Linked DNA regions of Homo sapiens: region 1 is linked to region 2. Evidence: promoter capture Hi-C in 16 types of primary human blood cells and fetal thymus (Javierre and others, 2016). All regions are on one chromosome and are shown on one strand. Each heading gives the region's core, a stretch centred on a gene start or on the middle of the fragment in contact. The rest is flanking DNA. Distances are from core to core; before and after follow the strand shown. Region 1 overlaps FMN1 (formin 1). Region 2 holds the start of GREM1 (gremlin 1, DAN family BMP antagonist).

The links. Contacts are between HindIII fragments. The CHiCAGO score rates a contact against its expected background, and 5 or more counts as called.
Region 1: a fragment that was not itself captured here is called in contact with the fragment with the promoter of GREM1 in region 2 in 3 of 17 cell types (M1 macrophages, M0 macrophages and M2 macrophages); the score reaches 7.1 in M1 macrophages.

The regions. Positions count from the first base shown.
Region 1 is chr15:32,832,215-32,838,838 of GRCh38, reverse strand. All of the region lies in intron 17 of FMN1 (formin 1), which reads left to right. It also overlaps the pseudogene LOC107984761. Among named protein-coding and RNA genes, the nearest start is that of GREM1-AS1, 120 kb to the right of the region's middle. The HindIII fragment of the contact is 2,093 bases long and covers 3,903-5,995 here.
Region 2 is chr15:32,713,046-32,719,806 of GRCh38, reverse strand. GREM1 (gremlin 1, DAN family BMP antagonist) reads right to left here and starts at 1,803. Exons shown (of 2, transcript NM_013372.7): 1 at 1,646-1,803. GREM1-AS1 (GREM1 antisense RNA 1) reads left to right here and starts at 942. Exons shown (of 2, transcript NR_109767.1): 1 at 942-1,262; 2 at 1,443-1,706. RefSeq lists enhancers at 503-1,080, 1,081-1,659, 1,797-2,297. The HindIII fragment of the contact is 6,086 bases long and covers 1-3,551 here.

The DNA.
Region 1 (6,624 bases), core at 3,700-6,199, 120 kb before region 2:
CGTGTCACAATCCTATTGTTCAAGCGTTCTGGCAACAGCCACTGTCATTCAGCTCATTTGGGAGAAAAAATAATAATTTGGATTCTGTTGCCTTGATTTTTTTCTCATTAAACCATTTTTTAATGAGCAGGAAGTAGGACCAAGGCATAGAGATCTGTAGGGTAATATCTTTCCTTAATTAGCCAAATGCTGACAACAGAGGTCACCCAGTTGCAGGAGATTTTTGCCCTCCCGCTTTAAGCGGGGCTTTAAGCGGGCATGTGTGTTGTACACACAGGCTGGAGGCCAGGAGAGGACAGAGCCTGCAGTCAGGTCACTCGTAACCCCACGGCTGCTGCTGTTTGTGTTTACTTGAGCATTCACTGCGCCTGCTATGTTTTCCTCTTGGATCCAGAATGCCAAGAGGGTCCCTTCAATCTGCCATTTATCTCCTCTTGAGATGCACAGAAATCGGGCACCAGTTGCTCAGTCTCCAGACTGTTCTCAGCATCAGACAATGGCCCTGTGTTTCCTTTGCTCTTTTTCCATACATTGGCCTCACCTCTCCGATTTTTTTTCTTTCTCCCCTTCCGCTTTTAATTTTTTCTCTCTTACCTCGGTTTGAGCGTCTGCCTTCTTTCATAGCTTTCTGTTTTCTCTCAGCATCTCCTCCACCCCCTTATGTTTTCAGTTTCTTGTGACTCGCTCTCCAGATTCCTTCATATTCAGGAATCACTGTCTTTGCCCAACATTGTTGTGAACGTGCCGGCCTTTTATTGTGGTTGTTCATCCCTTTCCCTCTTGCCTTCATTGCTCCCCGAGCCCTCCACCTCAGCCTCCTAAAACCTTTGAAGTTCTTCAGACTGGAAGTGTCTCTGGATCATGCTACATAAATGAGGCAATAGCACTTGGGATCCATTCAGCATGAGGACTGTGGAAATGATAGTCTTTCTCCCATTTTGCCCTAGGATGGGCATCTGTTGATGGGCAAGGAATTAACAGAGAGCACATCCCATTCTCTGTGACCAATCACTACTATTCTTTTTCAGTTGTTCATTCAGCATTTATAAGTTATCTACTATATGTGAGACTCTGAGGAAAAAAAGAAGAATCAGACACTATTCCAGTCTAAAAGACCCTATATATCTGACGCAAAATCTTACTCCACCTTTCAGGAGCATTAGATATAGCTGATCAAATGATGGATTGAAAACTCCTTCTTGCTTTAGGTCCTAACCCTCTTTTGTCTTCTCTCTACTTCATGGGCATTCCTCAATCTCCTAAGCTGGTTCTTCATCTTCCCAATCTCTAAACACAAGAGGGCTTCAGGACTCAGTCCATGAACCCCTTGCCTTATCACTGGGGTTGCTGAGGTGCATAGAACCTTGAGACTTTCTGATGGATCAAGCATATAATAAAGAGACTGAGGGAGACAAGAGAAGTCACTGTCGCCAGAGTTAGATTCACTGCCACCGCCACCCCCAGGAGCCGCCAGAACCCTTATGTCGCCACCACCACCCAGATCCCTGCACCATGACATCAGAGAAGACCTTCAGGCCACACCACACCTTTGAACAAAGAGTAGAAGTTTGACTTCTCCGAGAGCAGCATCCACCCAAAATCTTGGTAGTAACAGAACGATACAAGGCTGAGAAGCAGCTTCCCGTCCTGGATAAAGCAATGTTCCTTGTACTGGACCACATCAACCTGAGTGAGCTCATCAAGATCATTAGAAGGTCCTTCCAGCTCAGTGCTAATCAAGCCTTCCTCCTGGCGGTGAACAGACACAGCATTGTAGCAGAGTGAGAAGGATGAAGATGGATTCCTGTACATGGTCTGTGTCTCCCAGGAGACAATTGGAATGAAATTGTCAGTGTAAAACTGAAAAAAAAAAAATGCATCTATTTTAGAATTTTTAAACCTTTACCAAGGAAAAAATAAAGGAATGTTACCCACTGAGATCGATCAGTTCATCTAATCACAGATCGTCAAACAGTAGTGTTCCCACCTAGGAGTGTCAGGAAGTTGTGTTTGTATTTGAAGCAGAAAACTGGGCTCCAAGTGAGCACGTTCAGCTTTGGAAACTATGTTATTTAACATAGGCTAGCTTGTTTTCAGATTTTAAAAGTTTAAAAAGAAAATACTTTGCATTCTAAAAAAAAAGAGAGAGACTGAGGGAGATGTATGCTCAAGCAATGGGTGTATCCTCTTGTTCTTCACCAAACAAGGGGAAAGTTTTACATTCATTTACATTCATTTTACAAGTTTGTAAGACATATACAGCTTAGGGAGAAAAATATGAAGGCCTCGGTTCTGGGGAGAAAGCATGCGGGCATTTGTAGTACTGAGACTAAAAGTAAGGGGAGAAAGAGTTGCTGAGGTAAAGCTAAGTTAGAATATGAATTATTGCTACTATAAATGACACTAAATAGAACCTGTGAAAAAGGAGAAAATGTGAACTATACTATCCTCCTAAATAAAAGTAAATTATGATACCAAAAGCTTTTAAAAGTTTTGCCATTCCCAAACCGCCATGCAGTTGGCTTTGTGACTTTGGACATTCTCAGAGGGAAGGCATCACCTTTTAGAGTTTGTGAATTTGAATGAGTTTGGGTTTGTTTGGAAGCAGAGCTACATCAGAAATCTAGTCCCTTTCTTCCTAAAAGCACAAGGCTGCTAGTGAGCAGCCTTGTAATCCCAGCTGTGAGCAGTCGCTCACACCTGTAATCTCAGGACTTTGGGAGGCTAAAGTGGGAGGATCACCTGAGGCCAGGAGTTCAAGACGAGCCTGGGCAACATAGGGAGGCCACATCCTACAAAAAATTTTAAAAACTGGCTGGGCCATGATAGCATGCATCTGTAGTCCCAGGTACAGAGAGGCTGAGGTGGGAGGAACACTTGAGCCCAGAAGATTGAGGCTGCAGCGAGCCATGATCATGCCACTGCACTCCGGCCTGGGTAACAGAGTGAGAACCTGTCTCAAAAAAATAATAATAATAAAATAAAAACAGAAAAAGAAGAACAGTGTGAAAGATAATGCATGAAAAGCTCTTTCTTTCTTATTTTCATGACTTTACAAGCTTCACTTTCTGCCTTCCCATTTTGTACCACACAGACATTTACCACTGGGAATCTTCCTTGTCTGTGTCCCAAGGTTATCTGAACACCAAAGTTACACTTAAGAAGGAAAGGTTGTCAACTCAGGAGGATTGAAATAGAATTCCCTTGGAATCACCCCATAACATCTATTTGAAAACAAACCCTTCCAAACCATCACATCATGGAAATCACAGTCCATGGTGAGAAAACTGCCAAGTTTTTGAGGTTGCAACTTAGAACACACACCAAAAAAGTGTGTCTTCATCTCCAAGCATCTTTGGTTTGGAAATTGGGATAATAGGGCATCTGATCAGGCTTCCTCAAAGAATATCCAGTATTTTCCCGGCTTCCGGCAGCAGAAACCTGGTTGGTGGTCTAAGCCAGGAAGAAAAAGATATTTCACTTTGGAAGAGGAAAATAATTCTAAGTTTATTTTTTTAGAGCCACGATTTAGAAAAAATAATAAAATAAGAGATGCCTCTTATTTAAAATCAGTTTTCATTGTATCTGAATAGTCTGCTTTCCCTTGTTCATGAGTATCTGTGATTACGTGGTCAGGCCTGACACGTATCCCAGCTAGGCTGGGTGACATCCCTGTGTCCTGCCCTCTCCTCCAGCTCTTCCTCATGGGCCTGCTCACTAGCAGCCTTGTGCTTTTAGGTAGAAAGGGACTGGATTTTCTGATGTTGCTCTGCTTCCAAACAAACCCAAACTAATTTAAATTCACAAACTCTAACAAAGGTGATGCCTTCCCTCTGAGAGTATCCAAAGCCACAAAGCCAAACTGCAATGGCAGTTTCAGAACAGCAAGACTTTTAAAAGCTTTGGTGTCATAATGTTATCATTTTGAAGGGTTCACCTGAATAAAAGCCTTAGATTTCTCTGTGTGGTGAATATGAAGCACCCATTCTAAAATTAACCAAGGTGATCAGAGGGAACTAGGGCTTCTCCCCTTTAAACAGTGATTCTGTTTTCAAGATCAGTGGAAATAAGAAAAAGATGGAAAACTATTTGTTCAAAGAAAGGTACTACCTAGATTACCTTTATTTTCTCACTTCTTGCTGCTGCTGCCTTGTCTTAGGGAAAAATTGCTGAAAATAATAACGGTGGGAGTAAGAGAAGGCTAAAAGGGAGATGAGTTTCAGCCACATTTGGAGAAAGGAAGAATTAGATGAACAGAGCTTGGATGATGGCAGTCGGTTTCTTTGTTTGGAGGAACTATTAATAGTCTTGATTTAGCCCTTGAGCTCCTGTTTTCTGTCTTTTGTTTGTGTTTTATCTGTCTGATTTTTTCCTCCTTGAGGCAGCTTGAAATGTGAAAGGGCAAGGGAACAGAGCTAACGTAGGGTGGAAACATGGTTATATGTAATTAAGGTCTTACTTCCTCAATTTGCTACTACTGAAGCCCAAGGGAGACCAAGTTCTGTTCCACACACCATGTGAGAGGAAGAGGTTGACTAAGATGAGCTAGGCAGTTTTATCAGCTTGTTGGTCAAGGGATGTAGGATCCTGAGATGGATTCAATATTTTGGTTGATATTAACAGAAATATAATTTTTAATTTTTTTCCAAAGAACCAGACAGAAGTTTAAGAAAAGAGTTTACCATCCAAGAATTTAATTTGCTTTTCATCAGAGTATGACAAAACAGGCATGCTAGGGTCCAGCCTCAACTAACCTGAGTTGGTGAAAGGAAACAGAACTGAATTGGAAATAAATGCCAGGAGGTTCTGAGAATCAGAAAAAATGATGAGAAGGGTCAGGGTGAAGATGACAAAGGGCGATGGTTCTCAAAATCCTGCTGCAGTGTGAGAAGTAGCTGCCTTTTAGTGTAAGGTCTGGGCTTATGGAGGAACCCAAGAGAGTAAGAATGGAGTCAGCAAATTCATATTTAAATGAATATGCCCACATTCCTTTGCCCTATTGATTCCAGAAGTTGAAATTGTGGCCTTTAATGTGTTTAAGCCCTTAGATCATTTGCTAAGAGTTCAGGGGGAAAAAAGCAGCTGGTTCATCTCTGGTATTTTCAGATGGGTTTTCTTTACAGAAGTTACTCATAAGTGGTATTTTCAATGGAGACCTTCAGAAAAAAGATGCTTGGATATCTCATCAGGTTTCAGAGAAGTGTTCAGACTTGTTAACCCTTTTAACTCAGCTAAATGTCCATTAAACCATAAAACAAAGTCCATTACACTTTTGGGCCGGGGACTTGAGTGACTGACTCACTCACCCTGGGATGTTGCTCATCTCCTGTATGGACTAATATTGGGGCTTATTAGATCATGGGGGTCAGAAGGCTCACTTCCTCTGTGCTTGGATGCTGGGGCTGTTTTGATGCTAGTTGGCTTTCTGTGGGTCTTCTCCCTTATCAGTAGAGGATACACCCCACTTCTCCAGATGAGTCCCTTATAAAACAGCTGCTGCTTCATAAGACATTCCCTTAACCCAAGCCCTTTCCTCCCTATCAGTTACACTAATTGAAGATCAAAACCATTTCCCCCCACCTCCCATTACGTATTTTCTACTTATCCTCTAAGAAAAGAATTACAGGTTAGGATTACTCTAGAAGTGGTAGCTGTCAGTAGAGGAATGACATCCTAAAATATGACCATTAGAGACAAGAAGAAATTAGAAAGCTAGCATGCAGTGGGCATTTAATAAACAGCTGCTGGGAGTGGTGGCGGTGGAGAAGAGCAGAGCAGAGGAGGAGGGGAGAAAGGAGGAGTTGTAAAGTGGGAAAAAGGAGCTAACACTTTAGAAGGACAAAATGGCGGCAAAAAAGTCTGTCCCTTGGTTTTCTCCCATTGACAAATCTAAGACTGATGATGTCTACCCTACTTCCTACCTCTCACAAAACAACATTAGAAGGCAACATATTTAGGTAACCCGGGGTCATAAAGGAGAGTTGAAATAGAAGCTTCAGCAAATAACCCCCGTATCATCAGGCCTTGGATTATCAGCAATTCCAAGCACTACCTGAGTCTCCATCTCAAAAAGCTCTTCCTTCTGCTGGCTGGAGTGCAGTGGCGCGATCTCAGCTCACTGCAACCTCCACCTCCCGGGTTCAAGCGATTCCCCTGCCTCAGTCTCCCAAGTAGCTGGGATTACAGGCACTCACCACCATGTCTGGCTAATTTTTTGTATTTTAGTAGAGACAGGGTTTCACCATGTTGGCCAAGATGATCTTGATCTCCTGACTTCATGATCTGCCCGCCTCGGCCTCCCAAAGTGCTGGGATTACAGGTGTGAGCCACCGCACCCAGCCCCCTCTGCCTTGAAAATACTCACAGCATCATCTCAACAGCCAATACACTGAAACCCCTCTCCACACTGAAGCACAGTTGTCTGTGAAGAAAAATTAGGGAAGCCATAGAGGAACAATAGCTCCTTTGCAAATTACAGCTTCATCAGAAGGAAAGTTGAGGCAGGCATATAGTATTTTATTTTATACACCACAAACAGACAACCCCTAGACTTGGAATTCAGAATTAACAAAAGCATTAAATCCATCGGGCTTTGAGAAGGGTCAATGTTTTTTCATATGTCTT
Region 2 (6,761 bases), core at 554-3,053:
AATGGGGTTATCTTAACCTCTTCTACGCTATTTATTTAACTTGTGTGTACAGCCAGAAGGAAGCCACTACTCTGGGGTCCCTGGGACAGCTTAAAACCCTAGTGACCCACTTAACACAATAGATTGTTTTAATCAGTTCGTGTCCTGGCACCATCTCGAAGGGGAACATAAACAGACGCGCACACCGCTCAGATTTGCTCTTTCCAGCAGGAGATCCAATTACCTATCGGTGGTCACCTCTCTGCCCTCGGACCGTTTAAGAGGGGGATTTTAACCCCTAACGCTGAGGCTGTATTTCTGTCTATAAGAGCCGAGATTCGGAGTCGGTCGAGGAGGGGAAGGCAGTAGACGGATTCGACCCGGGAATGCATTAGGGACAGCTCCGGGCGCGCAGGAATTTCTTCACAGCAGAGGCTGGTCACCTGCCGTCCGTCCCTCCCCGCCTGGCCCGGTGACCGTCGCCAGAGCCTGGCGCAGGCAAATAAACGCCAAGCTGGGGCACCCCCAAGGAGGAGCTGCGATCCGAAGGCAATGCCAAGCGAGAGCGGTGGCGCGTCTGTTCTTCCGGAGTCTGTAGTCTACAAATAACTCCGGCCAGCAAGGAGGTGACAGCCCCAATATACCTCCCACTCCCCTGCTATGGCCTTGCTCCGCAAGCTGTGGAGGGGCCAGCGGAGCCAGCCAGGCAGCGAGAGAGAACGAAAGACGCCCAGCTCGTTGCAGCCGCCAACCCGCCTCAGCCGCCAGTCCCTAGTCCTCAGGAGCTAGTGAGGCGCTGCAAGGCGAGGCTGGGGCCTCTAGAACACAGTTTAAGGGGTGCGCGCGGAAGTGGGAACCAGCCGGTGGCCGCTGCCCGGCGCCAGAACGTCTACCATTCAGCCCGGGCGTGCGCGGGGCGGGGAAGAGGCTGGAGTAGAGAAGCGAGCGCCCGCGAGTGCGTGGCCGGTCCGCGAGCGCGTGTGGTGTCTGCCTTGTGAGCACTGCGGGTTCGCTGGACCCCGCGGCCAGGGCCGCGCCCCGCACCGCAGCTGTCGGATTACCCACCGTTCGGTTTTCCGCTGTGGCTGAACACAGCGGCTCTGCCCTTGCCAGTCTCCATCTCACCTCGGGGATCGGCAAATGCACACATCATGGATTCTCCGGATGCTCCAACCCGCGGACTCCAATGGGCGCCCCAAGACGCCCCCAGACCCAGCGCGGCGCCCCAAGCACATGGGACCCTCTCAAGGCAACTCGCCGCGCAGTCAGCGGCCGACTAGCAGGTCCGGATGCTCCTGCGCTCTGGCGGCCTGGACTTCGCGCCCTCGCTAAGCGGGCGCGTCTGCCAGGCGCTGCTGCCACCAGCACCAGGAGCGTGTTCGGGGGCCTCCGGGAGGTGGAAACGGGATGTGGGGGTCATCCTGCCCGCTCCTGACAACTTTTTTTCCTACGTTTCCCTGCAGACCCAGAGCAGCGAGGTCACGGTGTCCGCGGCCTCAGCAGGAAGGACCCCGCGATGGTTCTTCACAATTCACCCCCGCGAACAACGCACCCGAGCCTGCGCGCACGGAGGGCTGCCGCGCGTGGAACTGAGCGGGTCCTGGGTTGGTTTGCGGCCCTCTTCCCTCCGCCCACTCACATCCCTGCCGGGTGCGTCCGCGCTCACCTGTCAGTGCGGCGGGTCCTCGGGGCCTGCGCTTTCGACGCGTGGCGCTGAGTGCGGCCGCGGCCAGAGCCGCCGGGGCTCGGCGCGGGGTCAGCGGGACCGAGAGTGACGCGGCGGCCGTGCACTGGGTCGCCCGGTCCGCGGAAGGCGCACCGAGTGCCAGGCATCGCGCCGTCTCCCGTTTAAATGCCGGCGGCAGAGCGCGGCGCCCGGGGCCGCGCCTCTCCATTGGCCAGGCGCCGCCGCCGCCGCCAGACCCGCTATCCGCCCCCTTTCCCGGTACTGCCCCCGCCCCCCGCACCCCTCCTGCTTCCCCGCGGGGTCCCCTCTCCGCCCGCCTCGCCTCTTTGTCTGCTCCCCCCGCCCGGGCCGGCTGGGAGAGGTCACCCCAGGGAACCGCGCCTGGAATGCACAGCAAATCACATTTTCCGCTCCCGTTGGAGAGGGAAGAGCGGGAGGAAATCCCCCCGGCTGGCGGCCCCTCATTCCTTCTCTGCCCCAGGTCTGGGCTTTCCCTGTCGGCCGCCCGGCATCGCCTGCGTTGGTCCCGCGCTCAGTAGCGGAGACTGCGCTGGGAAGAGCGAGATCTCCGTGGGATCGTGCCAGATTCGGCCATTCTTCCCCTCTGGAGGGAACGGGACTGCGGGATGCTCTGGTCGAGCGGCCGTCGTGGCTCCCCGGCGGCCCCGCCCGAGGCCCCCAACTTCGAGGGCGCTGACCCCGGCGCCCCCGTTAACCTGGCGGGCTCGCTGGCCGCCAGCAGGAGCCTGTCGCCAACATGACACCCTGCTCTCCTCGCCCGCCAAGGGTTCTTTCAGCCCAGATGCCGGCGGCCTCCCCTGTGAGTGTACAGAGGGGAGTCACGGGAGGAGAATAAAACTAAATGACCGTCAAAAGTCAAGGCTTCTGTTCCTAAATTATCTTAAGAGACAGAGAGAAAACAGCCACTGGGCGAGAGGGGTTTTCTGTAGCATATCAAAGACGAATAAGTCAGGAAAATAAAACGTTAGATGAGGAAGTAACTTCCCAGAAATTTAGGACAAAAACCTACCGACGTGTAAAACCAATGTCACATTCCGGATACCAAGTACATAAATAGTTTTCGAAAGATGAGCGAACACTTTCATTTGTTCTCTTAGCCTGAAAAATTGGTTCCTCAAAGAGGCCGTAAGTTTTGTGTGTTGAAGCTAAAGTCCGTGCAAAAATTAACACGTCTGCAAGATCTGCAGACCAGCTCCATCAGCCACGTCAAATGAAGACTTTGAAAAAGATTTGCTACAGAAGGAAATATGAAGGTGTCTGTATTGTCTAACGCGAAATAAACAAAACAATGAAATCCATCAAAAGATACTTACGAAACACCCGTAATTTAAGTACTTGACTAGGAAAACAAAACCAGACCAGAAAACAGCCTATTTTTTTTTTCTCTTTAGTCCGGCGTTAGGGGGAAGAAGCAAGAAACATCTACTAGATGCTGTTAGGAACGTGAAATAGATATTTTTAAATAAATGAAGCAAGAAGGACGTCTGCATTAGTATCCTTAAAATCTTAGTCCTCTCAATGTTTTGTTTGTGCAGATGGCAGTTTCTACACATGAACTCGAGGCTGCACTTTACAATTCTCAATCAGTTGTTGTTAAGTCATGCAGTGAGCCACAGTTTGTAGTTGCCTACAGAATGGGAGCATTGAACCAGCTTGAAGACCTGTCTTGCTCACGTGGGCTCCTGGAGAGATAGGTAATCAGAAATACACAAAATACTTAGGCGATGACCAGTTCAGTCGAAGCCCACCACCAAGCTGTATTGGAGCCAGCTGTTCTCCCAACGTGCAAACTGCTGTACTTCTCCCCACAAAAGGGAGCATATTTTACAAATTCATTAAGTCCTCCTCATCTAAAATAAAAGCTTTAGTCACTTCTTTTTTTCCCAAGACTTATATACTGCCCCAAATCAAATACAAAGAAGCTGAAATTACCTCCCAAAATGGAAGTGATTTTTTTTTTTTGGAGCCCTGACACTGTGGTTTTCTCTATCTCCATGTATCAAATCATGATGACTCTTCCTCATGCAGTTTCTCAGGCCATATTTTTTATAATAGAGCCCCCACCTCCTCCCCACAACACACGCCCCCTCTCTGTATCCCAAAGAGATAGAGAGGGCTATGCATCACTGCATCATTTTTCTTCATTCTCATTTCTCTCTCCCTTCTCCCTGGCATTATAGTATTTCCTGCCACTAGAATGTAAGGTTCATAAGGGCAGGGATTTTGTCTAGGTCACTTTGATTACATGAAGCACATAGAATATAGATTGTCTAACACAGCACTCAGATTCAATAAATAGTTGTGGATTGAGAATGTTGAGCACATTCCCACTAAGATTGTCAGCTGAACCAAATGCTGAGGGTATAACCATCGTGGATAGGATAAACACAGGCCCTCACCTCAAAGAATTTATAGTCTAGTATGTTTGTAAATATTTATATAGAAACACAAGTTTTTTGCCCAATATTTGTGTTTCCACAGCTCCTAACAAGTTCTTGCAAACCATTGTCCAATCAGGAGGAAGGCATAAGGATAAAAACTCCCTAGACCGCTCTAAACATGGTTACATAACTAAAACCTGCTTTTAGTAAGGGGAGAAGAAGTAGAATGACTCGATGTAGTCATGCCTAAACCATGATGCCTAAACCACGATCACTAAATGATTAATTTTATTTAATGAAAGTACTTTCAAACTACTTTGAGGTTGTGAGAAGAGTAGATTCTGCTCAGCCACTGGTTCGTAAAAGTAAAGTCCATTTCCTCTTTTTTTGCCCACCTGTGTTTGGAATGTGCTAGCCTCTCTGTAACCCCAAGAAGCTAAAAGAGGGCTACTCCCCAGGTTTGGAGAATAACTTTGAAGACCTTTAGAGAAGAGTTTTTACTTAGATCTGCAAAAGCTATTTACAGCTGTTCATCCAATTGCAGAGACTACGTATGCTGTCTTGCATAGGATTAAAAAAGAATAAAGCCCTTTACACAGTTGGAACTGACCTTGTATGCCCTTTCTAAAGAAAAAAAGTATTAACCTATAAACTTGATAATGATTAAGTAAAAACATATTTACAAGAGTCAAATACCAGTTAAATGGATCATATTCAGAATGAATTTTTCTTATAAGTTAGTAAGAAAAAAATCCCCACAAATAACCCAATAGGAAAAAAAAATTGCACATGGCCAAAGCACATGGGCAGGTAATTCACAAAAAAGAAACCTGGACAGCCAGTAAATATAAAAAGATGCAACATTACACCAGTAAATCAGAGAAATATAAACTGAAATGAGAAGATACTGTTGCTTATCTACAAAGTTACCAAAGATCTAAAAGTCTGACAATATCCAGCAATGGAAAAGGTAGAGAGAAGCAAGCAAGCAAATGCATTGCTAGTGAGAGGGTAAATTAGTACCATCATTTCAGAAAGTAATTTGTCAATTTGCATTAATATTAAACATGCACTTAGTATGCCACCCAGACATTACACTTCTAGGTAAACACCTTAGAAAAATTTGAACGTGTGTATGAGGACTAGAAACTTGTATAAGCATGTTTATCAAGGTATTGTTTGTAACAATCTTAATGTCCATCAACAAATATAGGAGAAGGCATAAGAAATTATTTTATTCATATGGCAAAATGCTACATAGCTAATAAAAGAAATTGATTAGATTTTTATATTTTAACATAGAGCTCAAAACATAGAGATGCTTTTTTTTAAAAAAAAAAGGAAGCTGCAGAATGATATAAGTAGTATGATACCATTATGTGTATTTTATAGTAAACATATAAAAATAGCATAAATTGCTTGTGAAACATATGGTCATGTGCATGGATAAATAGTGACTTGGAATCCATACCTTTAATGATGTTCACCAGAATGAGGAGGGGAGGAGGTGGATCAGGCATGGACGACAAAAGAAATTTCAACATTACAAACCATTTAAAAATCTTATGTCTTAAAAAAAATCTTGAAAGAAATATGACAAAATGTGGACAATTTGAATTTCTGGGTGATGGGTACATGGATGTGTTTGCTAGATAACTCTCTCTACATGTTGATAATGTTTTAAACCCTCAAATTTAAAACAAATGTGATGTTTCTATTATGATTTCAAGAGTGATTTTGAGCATCATTTGTAAACTGAACATTTTTGCTTCCCATGTGTTCTTTGTAACAAGCTCCAATCTGAGTAGGCATGCTTTCAGAATGCAAACAAGCCCTTATGTAAGTGTGTATGTCTGCTGACCTGTCTGAGGTGTATGCCTAACCAGTTTCCTGTGTATGGAAAATGCACGTGCATGTGAAAATTCTGGACAATGTTGCCAAATACAGGTATATGGAATGAGTTATTCAGGACCATTGTAATACAATTCTTGCCCTATTTCATGCACATATTTATTGCATATACTCCACGTGCAGTGCAGTATCAAAAGGTGAAGGCTTCAAACTGTGAACATAATCCTTCACAGTCAATAGTTCTGGCACAGTGGGAAAAAGCACGGAACTCGGAGTCAGGAAAGTCAGAGTAAATTCCTGATACTTCCCCTTAGAAGCTGAATGTCTCAATTAGGTATTTAAAGCCTCTGGGCTGAAATTCAACCATCTGTATTATAGGAATGGTGATAACACCCACTTCTGGGTAGATGCTGGAATTAAGTAAAACAAGCTCTGTGAAAGTGCCAGGCACCTAATAAACATCAGTGTCTGCATAGATACTAGAGTTCAACTGGGAGCTAACACAATAAAACAGTAAGTCTAATATCAGCGTCTGCTGGGTCTTATGTATCTTTTTTTTTTTTTTTTTTTTTTTTTTTTGAGGCGGAGTCTTGCTCTGTCGCCGAGGCTGGACTGCAGTGGCGCGATCTCGGCTCACTGCAAGCTCCGCCTCCCGGGTTCACGCCATTCTCCTGCCTCAACCTCCCGAGTAGCTGGGACTACAGGCGCCCGCCACCACGCCCGGCCAATTTTTTGTGTTTTTAGTAGACACGGGGTTTCACCGTGTTAGCCAGGATGGTCTTGATCTCCTGACCTCGTGATCCACCCACCTCGGCCTCCCAAAGTCCTGGGATTACAGGCGT